Regions from separate parts of the Homo sapiens genome. Here regions 1 and 3 are each linked to region 2. The links are contacts of gene promoters, found by promoter capture Hi-C in human tissues and cell types (Jung and others, 2019). All regions are on one chromosome and are shown on one strand. Each heading gives the region's core, a stretch centred on a gene start or on the middle of the fragment in contact. The rest is flanking DNA. Distances are from core to core; before and after follow the strand shown.

Region 1 (4,888 bases), core at 463-2,962, 270 kb before region 2:
AACTAAAAGAGATGAAAGGGTCTCTTTCCTTAGAGCCTAAGGAGACCTGAGAGAGATTAGACAAATCTGCTTGAAAGCTAGAGCTGGATTACTTAATTCAAGAAAGAAATGTGACCATGTGACCCACTGTAAAGTACCTAAAAGAAGGGAACTTACTGTTATTTAGAAATTCCACAATCAATGCAAACTTTGATCAACAGTTCTTCTTGACCCCCTGTAGCTTACCTGTCCCTTTTTCTCGACATCCTGCAGCTATGTATGTACCTTGTAGAGTTAAGGACAGAAGAATATGCTTTGATCAGATTGTCCCTAACCGCATTACATAGGTTTCCCATAACAAAGAACCAGTGTGGTTTTAAAAGCAAAGTCCAGGGTTACCTGATCAAGTTAGCAGGGATCTGTGAATGCAGCCTATTAGGCATAGATTAAAGCAAAAGAATAAGGAAGAAGCAGGCTGAAACAGACTTCACTGAAGAAGCAGAGACAGAGAACTAAGGGAAGAGAAATGTGACAGAGAGACTTTCTTTTTCTTTAACTTTTCTGAGACAGAGCCTTGCTCTGTCACCCAGGCTGGAGTGCAGTGGCGCATCTCGGCTCACCGCGACCTCTGCCTCCCAGGTTCAAGTGATTCTCTTGCCTCAGCTTCCTGAGTAGCTGGGATTACAGGCGTGGCCACGCCCAGCTAAGTTTTGTATTTTTAGCAGAGACCGGGTTTCACCATGTTGGTCAGGCTGGTCTCCAACTCCTGACCTCGTGATCCGCCCACCTCGGCCTCCCAAAGTGCTGGATTTACAGGCGTGAGCCACCGTGCCCGGCCTTTTTTTTTTTTTTGAGATGGAGTCTAACACTGTCGCCTGGGCTGGAGTGCAGTGGCGCGATCTCGGCTCACTGCAACCTCTGCCTCCCTGGCTCAAGTGATTCTCCTGCCTCAGCCTCCTGAGTAGTTGGGACTATAGGCTCGTGCCACCACGCCCAGCTATTTTTTTTTGTATTTTTAGTAGAGACATGGTTTCACCATGTTGGCCAGGCTGGTTTCGAACTCCTGACCTCAAGTGATCCGCCCACCTCAGCCTCCCAAAGTGCTAGGATTACAGGCATGAGCCACTGCACTGCGCCCGACAGAGATACTTTCACATATAACTCCCCCAGCTTACCCACTACACACAGGCCCATTGTTAAAAGGGCTCCCCAATTATTATCTTCCTCATTCCTTTACCTTTAAGCAGGCTCCCTTCTAAACATATATAGGTAAGTCTAAAAACTTCCAAAAAAACCAATTCCCTAGAATCTATCCTAGTCTGCTAATTGGGTTTAGGGGGAGGTTTTTTATTCTTATTTTTTTAGAGACAGGGTCTGGCTTTGTCACCCATGCTGGAGTGCAGTGGCACAATCATAGCTCACTGCAGCCTCAAACTCCCAGGCTCAAGCGATCCTCCTGCCTCAGCCTCTTACAGTGCTGGGATTACAGGCATGAGCCACTGCACTCAACCTCTTGATTAAGAATACTTGCTGCCGGGCACGGTGGCTCACTCCTATAATCCTAGCACTTTGGGAGGCTGAGGCAGGTGGATTGCCTGAGCTCAAGAGTTCAAGACCAGCCTGGGCAACACAGTGAAACCGTCTCTACTAAAATACAAAAAAGTTAGCCAGGTGTGGCAGCACGTGCCTGTAGTCCCAGCTACTCGTGAGGCTGAGGCAGGAGAAATTGCTTCAACCCAGGAGGCAGAGGTTGCAGTGAGGTGAGATCACACCACTGCACTCCAGCCTGGGTGACACAGCGAGACTCTGTTTCCAAAAAAAAAAAAAAAAACTTGCTAACTGGCCGGGGTGCAGTGACTCACACCTGTAATCCCAGCACTTTGGGAGGCCAAGGCAGGCAGATCACTTGAGGTCAGGAGTTCAAGACTAGACCAGCCTGGCAAACATGGAGAAACCCTGTTTCTACTAAAAATACAAAAATTAGCTGGGCATGGTGGCGCGTGCCTGTAACCCCAGCTACTCAGGAAGCTGAGGCATGAGAATTGCTTGATTCTGGGAGGCGGAGGTTGCAGTGAGCCAAGATTGCACCACTGCACCCCAGCCTGGGCAACACAGCCAGACTCTATCTCAAAAAAAAAAAAAAAAAAAAAAAAAAAAAAAAAAAAAGAATACTTGTTAACTGCTTGGTACAGAAAATATTTAAAACTACTCAGATTTTAAGCTTTTTACCTATATTTGACCAACCGACATAAGGAATTAACTGTCTTTAACTGAAAGAGAGGAATTAAAACCTGTTATTCTTTTATCTGATGAGGATCTGAATGTGTATGCTTAGGAGATCTGAAGGAAAATAAAAGACAAGCTTCTTTGGAAAGAGGCCTAGAGTTCAAGCCAATTAAGGAAGAAGGCTGGGAGTTAAATTCCTACACTATACTACCTACCTACCTACACACACACACACACACACACACACACACACACACACACCCCTCCAAATCGCAAAATAGGGCACTTTTGAGAGAAATTCTCTGGTCCAGTTCTAAAAAGGGGTAACAGGTATTTTATTTGTTAGAACAAGCATAAAGCATCATATGGACAAGAGGGCTAATACAGCCCTTTAGCGACCACAATTCTCATGTAACCAGAGAGGGAGAAATTAGCATCCTAGATCATACAATAAGAATTCCTGGCCCGGCGCAGTGGCTCACGCCTGTAATCCCAGCACTTTGGGAGGCCGAGGCGGGTGGATTACGAGGTCAGGAGATCGAGACCATCCTGGCTAACACGGTGAAACTCCGTCTCTACTAAAAAATACAAAAAATTAGCCGGGAGTGGTGGCGAGCGCCTGTAGTCCCAGCCACTCCGGAGGCTGAGGCAGAAGAATGGCGTGAACCCGGGAGGCGGAGCTTGCAGTGAGCCGAGATCGTACCACTGCACTCCAGCCTGGGCGACAGAGTGAGACTCCGTCTCAAAAATAATAATAATAATAATAATAATAATAATTCCTGGCCAGGCGCGGTGGTTCAAGCCTGTAATCCTAGCACTTTGGGAGGCCGAGGCGGGCGGATCACTTGAGGTCAGGAGTTCGAAACCAGCCTGGCCAACATGGTGAAACCACGTCTCTACTAAAAATACAAAAAAAATAGCCGGGCGTGGTGGCACGCGCCTATAGTCCCAACTACGCGGGAGGCTGAGGCAAGAGAATAGCTTGAACCCGGGAGGTGGAGATTGCAGTGAGCCAAGATCGCGCCACGTGCGCACTCCAGCCTGGGTGACAGAGCAAGGCTCGGTCTCAAAAAAAAAAAAAAAAAAAAAGAATTCCTAAGGTCTAAATGGGTAGAGAAAAGGAGAACAGAATAAGGAGTCTAGAAAAAATATTCCACAATCCATGCTAACTTTATCAGGTATCCCAGAACTTTGATGGAATACTGATTATTTGACAAACCTATATAATAGGGATTAACAGGAAACCGAAGACAAAACAGTTTCCTGAAGGAATGTGGCAGGGAATCGGCAATGGAGAGTCAAACTTGGGAAACCATCAGGAGGAGTCTGTAACGACAAAACATCTGTATTCTTTTCTTACAATATGGGGCGAGTTTGGTGGTTTGGTAAATTAAAATCAGGGTATCATCCACAATGCTAAAAATAAGGGGCAACCTGAAGGGTCCTAATCCAGTACGCCTACAGGTCTGTGTATCCTAAGGAGTCCATGTGCTGCCTTCAACTTTCCACCGACTCTATGCCCTCTCCCCGGCAGGGCTTCCTACTCTAAACCAAGGCTTTAGCTCCTACACTAGGCCACACACTTATTCCAAAGGTCAGCAGAACGCTCAGTCCCCAAGAATTACCCGGAACTCTCTTTCCCCGTCTCCCACTCGGGCTGAACCCTGACTCCCGGCCCCTGTGGACACCACAGCATCTCTGCTGCCCCTCCAGCTCCTACCAAAATCAGCGCCTCCATCTTGCCCCGCAGCTGGTGCCGACGTGGAGCCGCAAAAGAAACGCCGCCGCTGATTGGCCATACGTTCCCATTAGGCCCCGCCTAGGATAAGGATCATTGGGTAAGGCTTGCTTTATTGGCCAATTATTGTACTAGCTTGCTTACCGGAAGCAAAGTGTCCAACCAGAAGGCTCAGGTGTTTGATTGTCAGCTTGAATACTCAATAAAACGCCAAAACCTCACGACTCATTGGGGCGGGAGGGTTAGTGGGGCGGGGTTGTTTCCATGGGGAACAGAAGAAGCGATTGTTAATTTTCAATTGGTAGGGCCGAGGACACGTGATATTGTCGGACTGATTTAGCGATTTTTAAACCGCACCCTCTTTAGGGGGCGCTGTGTCTCCTTAGCCTTTAACACTGGCGCTTTCTAACCGGAATCCTGCCCTAATCCCTATTTTCAGCGCCCGCATTAGGTCCATGATCTCTGTGGCTAGCCCTTCCCTCATGCTCGCTCAGGTCACTTCAGCATCCTCACAGAAAGTCTGCACAACCATAGAGTAGAGCCAAGAAAGGCCCAACATGTTAACTACATAAACCAAGGCTGCCAGGAGTTGATAGTCGCAATAACAATCTCCCTAAGGTGGAGTTCCAGGCTTTGCTGGGCCTGAGGAACATGAGAAGTCAGTTTGTAAAGGCCAACTTGAGCTCAACGTGAAATCGGCTTTGGAGATGGGGTTTGCGGGACAAACGGGGAAAGGGATGGGATTAGAATAAGAGAGGGGTTATAGGGAGTAAATTCTGGGGTTTTCCAATAGAAACAAGCCGTTGTGCCTGGGCGCGGTGGCTCAAGCCTGTAATCCCAGCACTTTGGGAGGCCGAGGCGAGCGGATCATCTGAGGTCGGGAGTTTGAAACCAACCTGACCAACATGGAGAAACCCCGTCTCTACTAAAAAAAAAAAATACAGG
Region 2 (4,695 bases), core at 222-2,721:
ATATATATATATATATATATTAAATTCTATAAATAAGAGTCAATTTGTGTGTGAGGGGAGGGTGGGGGCATGGGGTGGGGGCAGGGGTGTGAGTTATGTTTTATAACCTGGTAATGTCCTCTGCCCGTTGCTGCTCCGGCGGCGTGGCGCTCTGGGAGTGGTCTTCAGAAGTACCCGGGGTAGCTGCCGAAAGGGTGCTGGGCGCAGCGCCGGCCGGGGGTGCTGACCTGACTTTGGTGTTGGGGAGTCGGTGGTCCTTCTTCCATTTCATGCGACGGTTTTGGAACCAGATTTTGATCTGCCTCTCAGAGAGGCACAGCGAGTGGGCGATCTCGATCCTTCTCCTTCGGGTCAGGTAGCGGTTGTAATGAAACTCTTTCTCTAATTCCAGGACTTGCTGCCGGGTATAGGCTGTCCTCGAGCGCTTGGGTTCCCCTCCGTTATAATTGGGGTTCACTGGGGGGAGGGGAAAAGCAAATAGTGGGGTTCAGAGGCAGCAGGCTCCCCGCCCCCCACCCTCACCCCATCCTCAGCTCTGAGAAACAGGAGGAGGGAGTGGTGGAAATAAAGTCATCAAGCTTAAATGGGTTATAAAGAAGTTGAAGGAAGCTGAAGACTTTGTAGTGTAATAAGAGGGGAATCCTCATTGTAACGACACTGAATTATTTATGCGCCCTTAGAAAGCGAGCATAGTTTTCACACATACATAACAGATCGTAGCACATGGCTCGGACTGCCCAGAGTAGCTAAGCCATAAAATTTATGGGGGATGTAATTACCCATTCTCGCTCGTAAATCCAGTTCAATTGTGCTAACCCAGAGTCGCTCCTGGAGAGAGAGGGGGAAGGAGAGAAAGGAGGACGGGGGCCAGAGGGGGCCGAGGAGGGTGGGGAGCGCTAGGGAAGAAGGGAGGGAGGGGGGGAGCAAAAAGCAAAGTTGCCTACCCGTGCTAACGTGAATTTTTTTCATCCATGGGTAGACTATGGGTTGCTTGCTGGCGGCGCTGGAGGGATGGTCGGGGGCTGGCTGGCTGCAGGCTGGCGGGGCTGGGGACGGGGAGGCGGAGGCGCCTGAGAGAGGCGCCGGCTCGCAGAGCGACTGTGATTTCTCGGGGTGGTGGTGGCCCGCCTGGGCCGGCCCGTGGCCTCGCGAATTGCCGGGCCCCTGGAGACTGGTGCAGCTATACTGGCGCTCAGGGTAGCTAGGGCGCGGAGGCGGTGGTGGGTACAGCTCCTGGTGGTGATGCTGGAATCCCGATTCCCTGGTCCGGCCGTAATATTCCGGACTGTGTTCAGGGATGTAGCTATTTTGCGAATATTCTTCGCATGGAGGAAATTTCGGATCGATGTAGTTAGAGTCCATCAAATACGAGCTCATGATCATTAATTTCTGGAGTGGAAAATAATTTTTCTCGCTTTGTCGTTTTTCTGCTCCATAAAGCCCTCCTACTAGCTAGCGACCCTGTAAAGTTACTTTCACCATGTGACTCCTCCGGCCAATCACACGGAGCAACCCAGTCCCCGGATAAGGAACCGAATCGCTTTATTCAAAATGTATCCAATTTTTTTGTGTGTGTGGTGGTGGTGGTGCTGGGAGGCGGGGGTGGGTGGTGATGTGGGGTTAGCTAGCAGAGGTTGGAGTGCCCCCAGTGCACATCCCGCCAGACTGACAACCCTCCCCTGCAAAAGGAGATGGGAAGCTCCCGGCTCCCCTCCAAAGCCCGGGCATTGGGGGACTGTCGGGAGGCAGTGATTCAGCCCCCGCCCAGGGTCTCCCCTCAGGCCTCTGCTGGGCCCCGTGGGCCTCGGCTCCTGAGCTTTTCCAGAGGTCTCCATTCATGGCGATCGTGTCTCAGTCTGTGTAGGTCACGGGGCAGCGCCCCTCTTTCGCAGGAAGAGGAAGTTGAATGAGGACTGGAGTGGATGTTGGATGGGGAGGGGCCCAGGCTGAGCCGAGGAGGCTGGAGAGCCTGGAGTGCCCCCCATCCAAGGATACCAGAGTCCAGCCCCTCTTCCCCATACACACTCACCCAACCCTCTGGCCATGCGGCCGGCGAGGCAGGGTCCCAGCTGGACCAGGCAGGTAGAGGCAGCGGGATGCAAATGATTCTGACGTCATTTCTGGAGGTCTGGGGGTTGAGCCCCCGCTGAAGAGAGACAGGAAGTGGTTGGCAAAAGCAGAGTTCAGAAGTCTCGCCTTCCCCTGCTACCCACTGACCCTCCCTGCCCCAGCCCCAGAGCAGAGGATCTCTTCTACTGCTGGCTTCTGTTTCCACTCCCCATTCAGCCCGGCCTGCTATTTTCTGACAATTATCTCCAAGGAGCTGGGGCAAGGAGGAGAGCTTTCTGCCAGGAGTCAGTGCCCTGTGATGGTGCCCAGCCAAGATCCTGAGAGTTCTTTCTCTGTCCCCACAGAGGGCAGACCTAGCTAAGAGGGAGGCCTGTGTGGGTAGAGCCTGCTTGCTTCTGGCTAGGAGCTGTATCCATGTAACACGTGTGTTTACATGTAAACACGAATTCCTAAAGGCCAGCTCCAGGCTGCTTTCCAAAAACGGAAGGCTAAGCTCACCAAGTTGGGGAGGCACGGCCAGCCTTTGGGGTCTCCAGCCCATTCACACCCCCTGCTCTCTCTCTGCCACCCACTCACAGTAATACTCTGATGGAGGGGGGTGACAGGGCCGTAGAGGAGGGAGGGGGCCAGGAAAAGCTGCTTTCCTAACCACCACCCCCCCCCCCCAGCTAGGGGTGGTCCTGTCATGCCACCGATTCCAATTAACTGATCGCCCATAACTCAGAGTTGCGGGGGGTAGCGGAGGGGAGAGCCCAGGGAGGGAGCCGGGTCCCCTTGTTGTACTTGATAACAATTATAGTTTAAAATCATAGCTTGCCAGGGCTCAGCTATATTTTACTTGATAACAATAAAAGTGACACATAAAGTTAACTGTTTATGTTTTATTTATTAGACTAAATCTGCCAGCGGTGGTAGGAGCGCTTGCCTCGTCGCTACAGCTTTTATAGGGCTGTAAAACGTCATAAATCAGTCTCGCGGAATCGCCCGCACTCTTTGTGTCGGCGGCGGCGCAGGGCTGGCGGCCGCTGGCTGCCTGCTCCCTCCTTTCCACGAAAAGTCGTAATGTGATTTTTTTTCCCTCTGATTTTATTATTATGATCGCCGCCGTGATTAGTCAATCTACCTTTAATTCGCCGCCCTACGCTACCTCCTCCCAGCCCAGCCTGGTTGACACTTGAATAAGTACCTTTTAAAACGGCATAACAACTATTTGAGGGTTTAATTAGAACATCTGCAATTAAGGGAATGAGGAGGGGAAAGGGAAAAAAAAAATAAAGCCCTTGTGAGAGGGAGACTGAAGGCAAGAGATTCCAATCCTTTTCTCATCACCTTTGGGATGTTGGAGAGGGTCCCCACTTCCAAATTAGGGCTTCCCCAAAGGGCTGGAATGAGAGGGAAGCTGGACCCACAGCCGTGCCCAAAGGGTGCGGATTCCCGCCTGGGCCCTCGTTGCCTTCCCTCCTCCAATGCTTAGGCCCCCAGCCCCACCCCAGGCTCAGCAGGGCCAGGGCTTAGCTCCCAAGGAGCTGGTGCTTGGTGGTCCCTGAATACTCTCTCTCCAAGAGGACAGTGCCCATCCCCACTGTAACCAGGCCAGGTGAAGGAACAGGAGTTCCCCAGAGGCTGAACACCTCTAATGGAGATTCCCAAATTCTCAGAGTTGGCTGAGAACCCTTGCCCACTCTTGTCCGGAACTCTCTGCATGTGAGGACAGGCTGGTTTGGTTGGAGAGGAAGTTGAGACTGTGAGTGAGGGGGCGGAGGAAGGCTACTGCTTGGTTAATAGTGGTTTGGGTTGTGTGGGGTTGTCTTAATCATTGGTGGTGGGGGTGGGTTCATTATAAATTGCTGGAAGAGGGCAAAGGGAAACCAGTGCTGAATCCTAGTACCTAAGTCTGAACTGTAGTCCCAGATGGCTCCACCGGGAAGTCCAAAGCTCAGCAAACTTTGGTGCCATGTGGAGAGGGTTGATGAAGAGGGAGGAAACCTTCCCGGCCCCACTCCCAGTCTCCCTTCTAGGCCTGTACCTGGATGCGGCTGCCTCACCTGGAAAGGTGAGCTGTGAGCCTGACTCTCATCCTCTCAGCCCTCACACTCACCTTTTACCATCCGTGCCCTGACGCTAACCCTCTTTTCTTCAATCTTCACCCTCCTGTACTTGTTAAGGAGTCCTCCCCAATATGTTGCCTGTCACATCCCACCCCCGCCAGGTTTCTGAGCTTCTGCAGGGGGGTCAAGGAGACTGACTTTGGGCCAGTATAAGTAGTAGACACAGAGGGTTCAGATGCCCCCAACTGAATGTCAAGTCTGTCTTTGGTTATTATGGTTAACATATATGCGTGCACACTATTAATATTTATTAATATATTAAATGCCTCTTTATGCAGCTATAAATATGTAGAGTTTTCATTCCAGGTTCGTGCAGCTAATTCAACATGCACATCCAGAAAGTGAAATCTCCAAGATTCCCCCAAATGTGCCCACACTCATCTACATCATTTACAAAACAACAACAGCAACTCTCTTTGGGCTCCTATAGCTTAATAGCAAGGAAGTCGCCTGTCACATGGGTAAAATACCACACACATACACACAAACATTTTCACCTGGATATTATTACAAGCAC
Region 3 (4,418 bases), core at 1,419-3,918, 330 kb before region 2:
GGGAAAGGGTCAAGCCAAGCTTCAGCCTCTGGTGCTCTGGGGCAGGGCAAGTGCCAGCCCAAAACCAGCTGCTGGGGGTGGATGCTGGGTGCAGGGGACTCTGGGAGCACTCAGGTTTCTCTCACCATTCCTGATGCCGCCTGGGGCTCATTAAGGCTGCCCTGGCCTTGGGTAACAGGCAGTAAGGGAGGGTGGGGCACAGAGGGCAGATGCCATAAGGGGACAGACCAGGAAGGGGAGGTGGTCAAGCTGCCCCATCCATCTATCTGTCCCTCTCTCTTCTCTTTTATCTTTCTCGCTGTCTCTGTTCTCTGTCTCTCGGTCTGTCTGCCCTAGTCTCTAGTTCTGTGTCCAGCTTTTCGGCAGTGTCTCTCTGTTTGTATGTCTGATTTCGCTCTCTGACATCTCTCCATTGTTCTCTATCCTTTTCTCTCTCAGTGTCACTGTCCGATTCCTCAGTCACCTATTCCTGCTGCTACCACTCTCCCATCCTCTCACTCACTTTCATCTGTCCGTCTCTCTGTGTGTGTGTGTGTGTGTGTGTGTGTGTGTGTGTGTCCTCTCTCCACCCCATCCCAACCTTGAAGGTGACAGAGGAGGGAATAGACACAAAGCATACAGACCCCCAGCTACTTAAGGGTCAAAGCCAAGGATCTTACCCTCTCCTTTAGCCCTGAGAATTCTGAAGCCCAAACTCCCAGTAGCCTTGACCCCCTGCTCTGTCTCAGTCACCCTGACCACCCATCCTGGCATGGGGTGAAAGAGACAGACCCCTCCAGACCTTTCTGGACCAGCTCCCAGCCCCCAGCTGTGCCTGAGCCCTCCCCACCCCCTCCCTGTCGCCTCAGATTCCCCTAATCCCTGCTCCCCTGCCCTCCCCTCTGCCCCACTTTTCCAGGATTCTGATTGGCTGATTCTACTGACTGGGCTGAGGGGGAGGGGGCTGGCAAGGGAGGGGGCAGAGGGCAGAACCAAGGGAAGGGGACGCTGTCAGGCCCAGGCCCCTGGGGGGCCAGGGCCAGGCCACTGCCTGGGGGCAGCAGGCATCAGAAACTAAAGGTATGAAAGGGGGTGGTGTCTGGAGGGAACAGGAAGGGATCCTGGAGACCTTCTGCTCTAGTAAAGTCAAGGGAGGACGGGCCAAGCACGCAGCCTCCTCGGTTTGCCTTTGTTCCTGGGAACCCCTGTTGCTGTCAGGGGGTTACTGGAGCAGTGAAGGGCGGCCAGAACTCCCCAGCTGGTGCACAGCAGGGTCGCAGAAGGGAGCTGGGCCAGTGGAAGCCCAGAAGGGCTCTGAGGACCTTTGGGCTGCCCCTTTGGAGTCTGGTGGAGTTCCTCCCGTGACTCTGAGAGGAGGAGGAGAAGGTTTCAGAGAAGGGTAGTTGAATGGCTGGCCTGGACTTTCATTTCCCCTTGGGGTCAGACCCAGGCATTCCCCGCCCATAGGCCAGGTCGAGGTTCCTCCTGCAGAACTGGACCTGTAGCTGAGCATTCCTGGTGAGACAAAAGGGCATGGGGGAAGACTGAGGAAGGTTGGGAGAAGGGGCTCTGAGAATGGCCTAGGTAGTTCACCTCCCAGAGCAAAAGCCACCCAACCCACTACCTACCCCCACAGATGTCAATAGTTAATAAAGAATTATAGTTAGAGCAAAATCTAATTCTAGGGCATCTGAGAGATTCAGCAGCCCCCCTCCAAATCTAAGTCTCAATATCCCCCTCTGGTCAGTAGGATGAATCACCCACTTGACTCTCTTCTTCCTGGGGCGATACCAAGCTTTAGGATCCCCTGGGGGAAAGCAAAACCAGAAGAAGAGGGTGGCCAGGGGCTTGAGGCTGGGAGTCCTGCTGGTTCAGCAGGCAGCCTGCAGAAAAGGTATGAGCTCTTACTGGGTCTGTAATGTGCCTAAGGAGTTTGGGGGAGGGAGGCTGGAAAAGGGGGAAGTGAAAACCACCCAGAAGGGAAGGACTGGTCTACACCCTCCCCCAGGCCCACAGGGCACTGTGCTCCATTGCTCTGGAGCCAGCAGGGGAAGTGTGTACACTATGTGCACTGAGGGTGACACTTCTGAGTGTGGGGGCCCTGGCTAGGGAGTGGGACTGGCAGGCTTGGGTGGGGTTCCCAAGCTTTAATCTTCCTACCCCACAGAATGTTTTCTCTGCCCTTCAGGCAGCCTGAGCCGGGCAGGGCCCCTGCCTCTGCTACGGCAGCCCCCGATCATGCAGCCCCCACTGGACCTCAAGCAGATCCTGCCCTTCCCACTCGAGCCAGCCCCTACCCTTGGCCTCTTCAGCAACTACAGCACCGTAAGTAGCAGCCTGCCTGCCTTCTCCATCCTCTTGTGACCCGACCTTTCTCTCTCAGACCCACCTCTGCCCTCTTCTTCTGTTTCTAATTCCTTATCTCCTCTTATGACCCCATCTTCCTTAATTCTAGTTAATTTTGAGTATTGTGGGCCATCTGGTACAGTGTTAACAACAATAATAATAGCTAATATTTGCTGAGGTCTTGCTACGGGCCAGACACTGTGCTAAGTGTTTTATATGAATTATCTCATTTAGTCCTACAGTGAATCGCCCTACCATCTAGAGAAGTAATGAGACTTAAATTGGTGGTAGTAACAGTAGGGAGGTAGGAGGGGTGTAGGTGCTGAATCCAGAAAGAGGGAATGAGCAGGAAAATAAGCATGCCTGTTTGTAAGTTTCACCTCTCTGCAGTCCACGGCTGGGTGGGTAGCATCAGTGGGATAGGGCTTGGAGGACTGGCAAGGTGGTCTAGATTTAATACAATATGAAATAAGGAGGTGCTGTCTATTCGTGTGTTTGTTTGTTTGTTTTTATGAGACGGAGTCTCACTCTGTTGCCCAGTCTGGTGTGCAGTGGCACGATCTTGGGTCACTGCAGCCTCCACCTCCCCAGTTCACCGATTCTCCTGCCTCGGCCTCCCAAGTAGCTGGGATTACAGGCGTGTGCCACCACACCGGGCTAATTTTTGTATTTTTAGTAGAGATGGGGTTTCACCATGTTGGCCAGGCTGGTCTCAAACTCCTGACCTCAGGTGATCCGCCTGCCTCAGCCTCCCAAAGTGCTGGGATTACAGGCATGAGCCACCACACCCAGCCGCCACTGTCTATTCTTGAGCAGGAGAGTGACTTGGTAAGAGCAGTGTTTGAGGAAGGTGAGTGGGGCAACTGGATGAAAGGGAACAGAGGCAGGAGGAAGGTGACAGTTAGGAGGCTGTCCTAGCAATGCAGGCCCGAGGGAAGCCTCAAAAGCCAGACGGGGCTGGTGGCAGTGGCAGTATGAGTGGAGAGAAAGGGAGAATGGGGGAGGTAATTTCAAGGAAATATTGACAGGCCATGGTGACCAACTGGTGTTTGGGGGTGGGGGAGAAGAGAAGGCATGAGTCAAGGATGACTCCAGCATTCAGGCCTTTGTGATTGGATGGAAGTCACCACTGACAGAGGCAGAGGGTTGGAAGAGGAAGCTGGTCTCCAGTGAGGATGATGCTTTAGCATGTGGTGCTAAAGCTAAAGCTTTATTTGTTTTGTTTTGTTTTGTTTTGTTTTTGAGATGTAGTCTTGCTCAATCTCTCAGGCTGGAGTGCAGTGGCATGATGATCTTGACTCATTGCAACCTCCGCCTCCTGGGTTCAAGCCATTCTCCTGCCTCACCCTCCTCAGTAGCTGGGATTACAGGCACGTACCACCATGCCCAGCTAATTTTTGTATTTTTAGTAGAGATGGGGTTTCACCATCTTGGCCAGGCTGGTCTGGAACCCTGACCTTGTGATCCACCTGCCTCAGCCTCCCAAGTGCTGGGATTACAGGCTTGAGCCACCGTGCCTGGCCTATTTGTTTTGTTTTAAAAAATAATAATAAATATTTTTTTTAAAAAAAAAAGGATATGGTGATTTGGCATACCAGTAGGACATTGAGCCCAAAATGTTCTACAGATAGTTAGAATCTGAAGCCTGGAAGGTGGGCTAGAGCTAAAAGTTTGGGGAAAGTCAGCCTTATTCAACTTAAATAACCCACATCAAACCATATTTAGCCATAAACATGTATTGAGCATTGACTACACACCAGGCACTGTAGCAGATGTTTCTATCTGCAATCTCATTTCACCTTCACAACAACCCAACAAGGTAGACATTATTATTCCATTTAACAAATAAGAAAGCAAAAACTAAGCCTCAGAAGGGTTTAGTAATTTATATAAGTTGACACAGTATGTGCCTAAGGTATGATTTGAACCCATTGCATCTGACTCTAAACAGACTTATCGTTATACCACAGCTGCTCCCCCCAAATGAGGGACCCAGACACACATTTGCATTGCACTTTTAAGTTTTCAGACTGGGCCAGGCGTGGTGGCTCACGCTTGTAATCCCAGCACTTTGGGAGGCCGAGGCAGGCGGA

What was found. Contacts are between HindIII fragments. The study calls those that stand out against the background at their distance.
Region 1: a contact is called between a fragment that was not itself captured here and the fragment with the promoter of HOXC4 in region 2, in 2 of the 25 tissues and cell types used here (aorta and psoas muscle).
Region 3: a fragment that was not itself captured here is called in contact with the fragment with the promoter of HOXC4 in region 2 in 1 of the 25 tissues and cell types used here (small bowel).

What each region holds. Positions count from the first base shown.
Region 1 is chr12:54,324,219-54,329,106 of GRCh38, reverse strand. COPZ1 (coat protein complex I subunit zeta 1) reads right to left here and starts at 3,976. Exons shown (of 9, transcript NM_016057.3): 1 at 3,926-3,976. The coding sequence starts at 3,943. The HindIII fragment of the contact is 4,502 bases long and covers 1-3,963 here.
Region 2 is chr12:54,050,611-54,055,305 of GRCh38, reverse strand. HOXC4 (homeobox C4) reads right to left here and starts at 1,471. Exons shown (of 2, transcript NM_153633.3): 1 at 945-1,471; 2 at 1-456. The coding sequence starts at 1,383. The coding sequence ends at 101. RefSeq lists a cis regulatory region at 1,180-1,680 and enhancers at 2,257-2,416, 1,712-2,693, 2,694-3,675. The HindIII fragment of the contact is 12,403 bases long and covers 1-4,695 here.
Region 3 is chr12:54,382,314-54,386,731 of GRCh38, reverse strand. It overlaps ZNF385A (zinc finger protein 385A), which reads left to right and starts at 1,999. Exons shown (of 7, transcript NM_015481.3): 1 at 1,999-2,304. The coding sequence starts at 2,218. All of the region lies in intron 1 of GPR84-AS1 (GPR84, ZNF385A, ITGA5 and GTSF1 antisense RNA 1), which reads right to left. The HindIII fragment of the contact is 3,541 bases long and covers 898-4,418 here.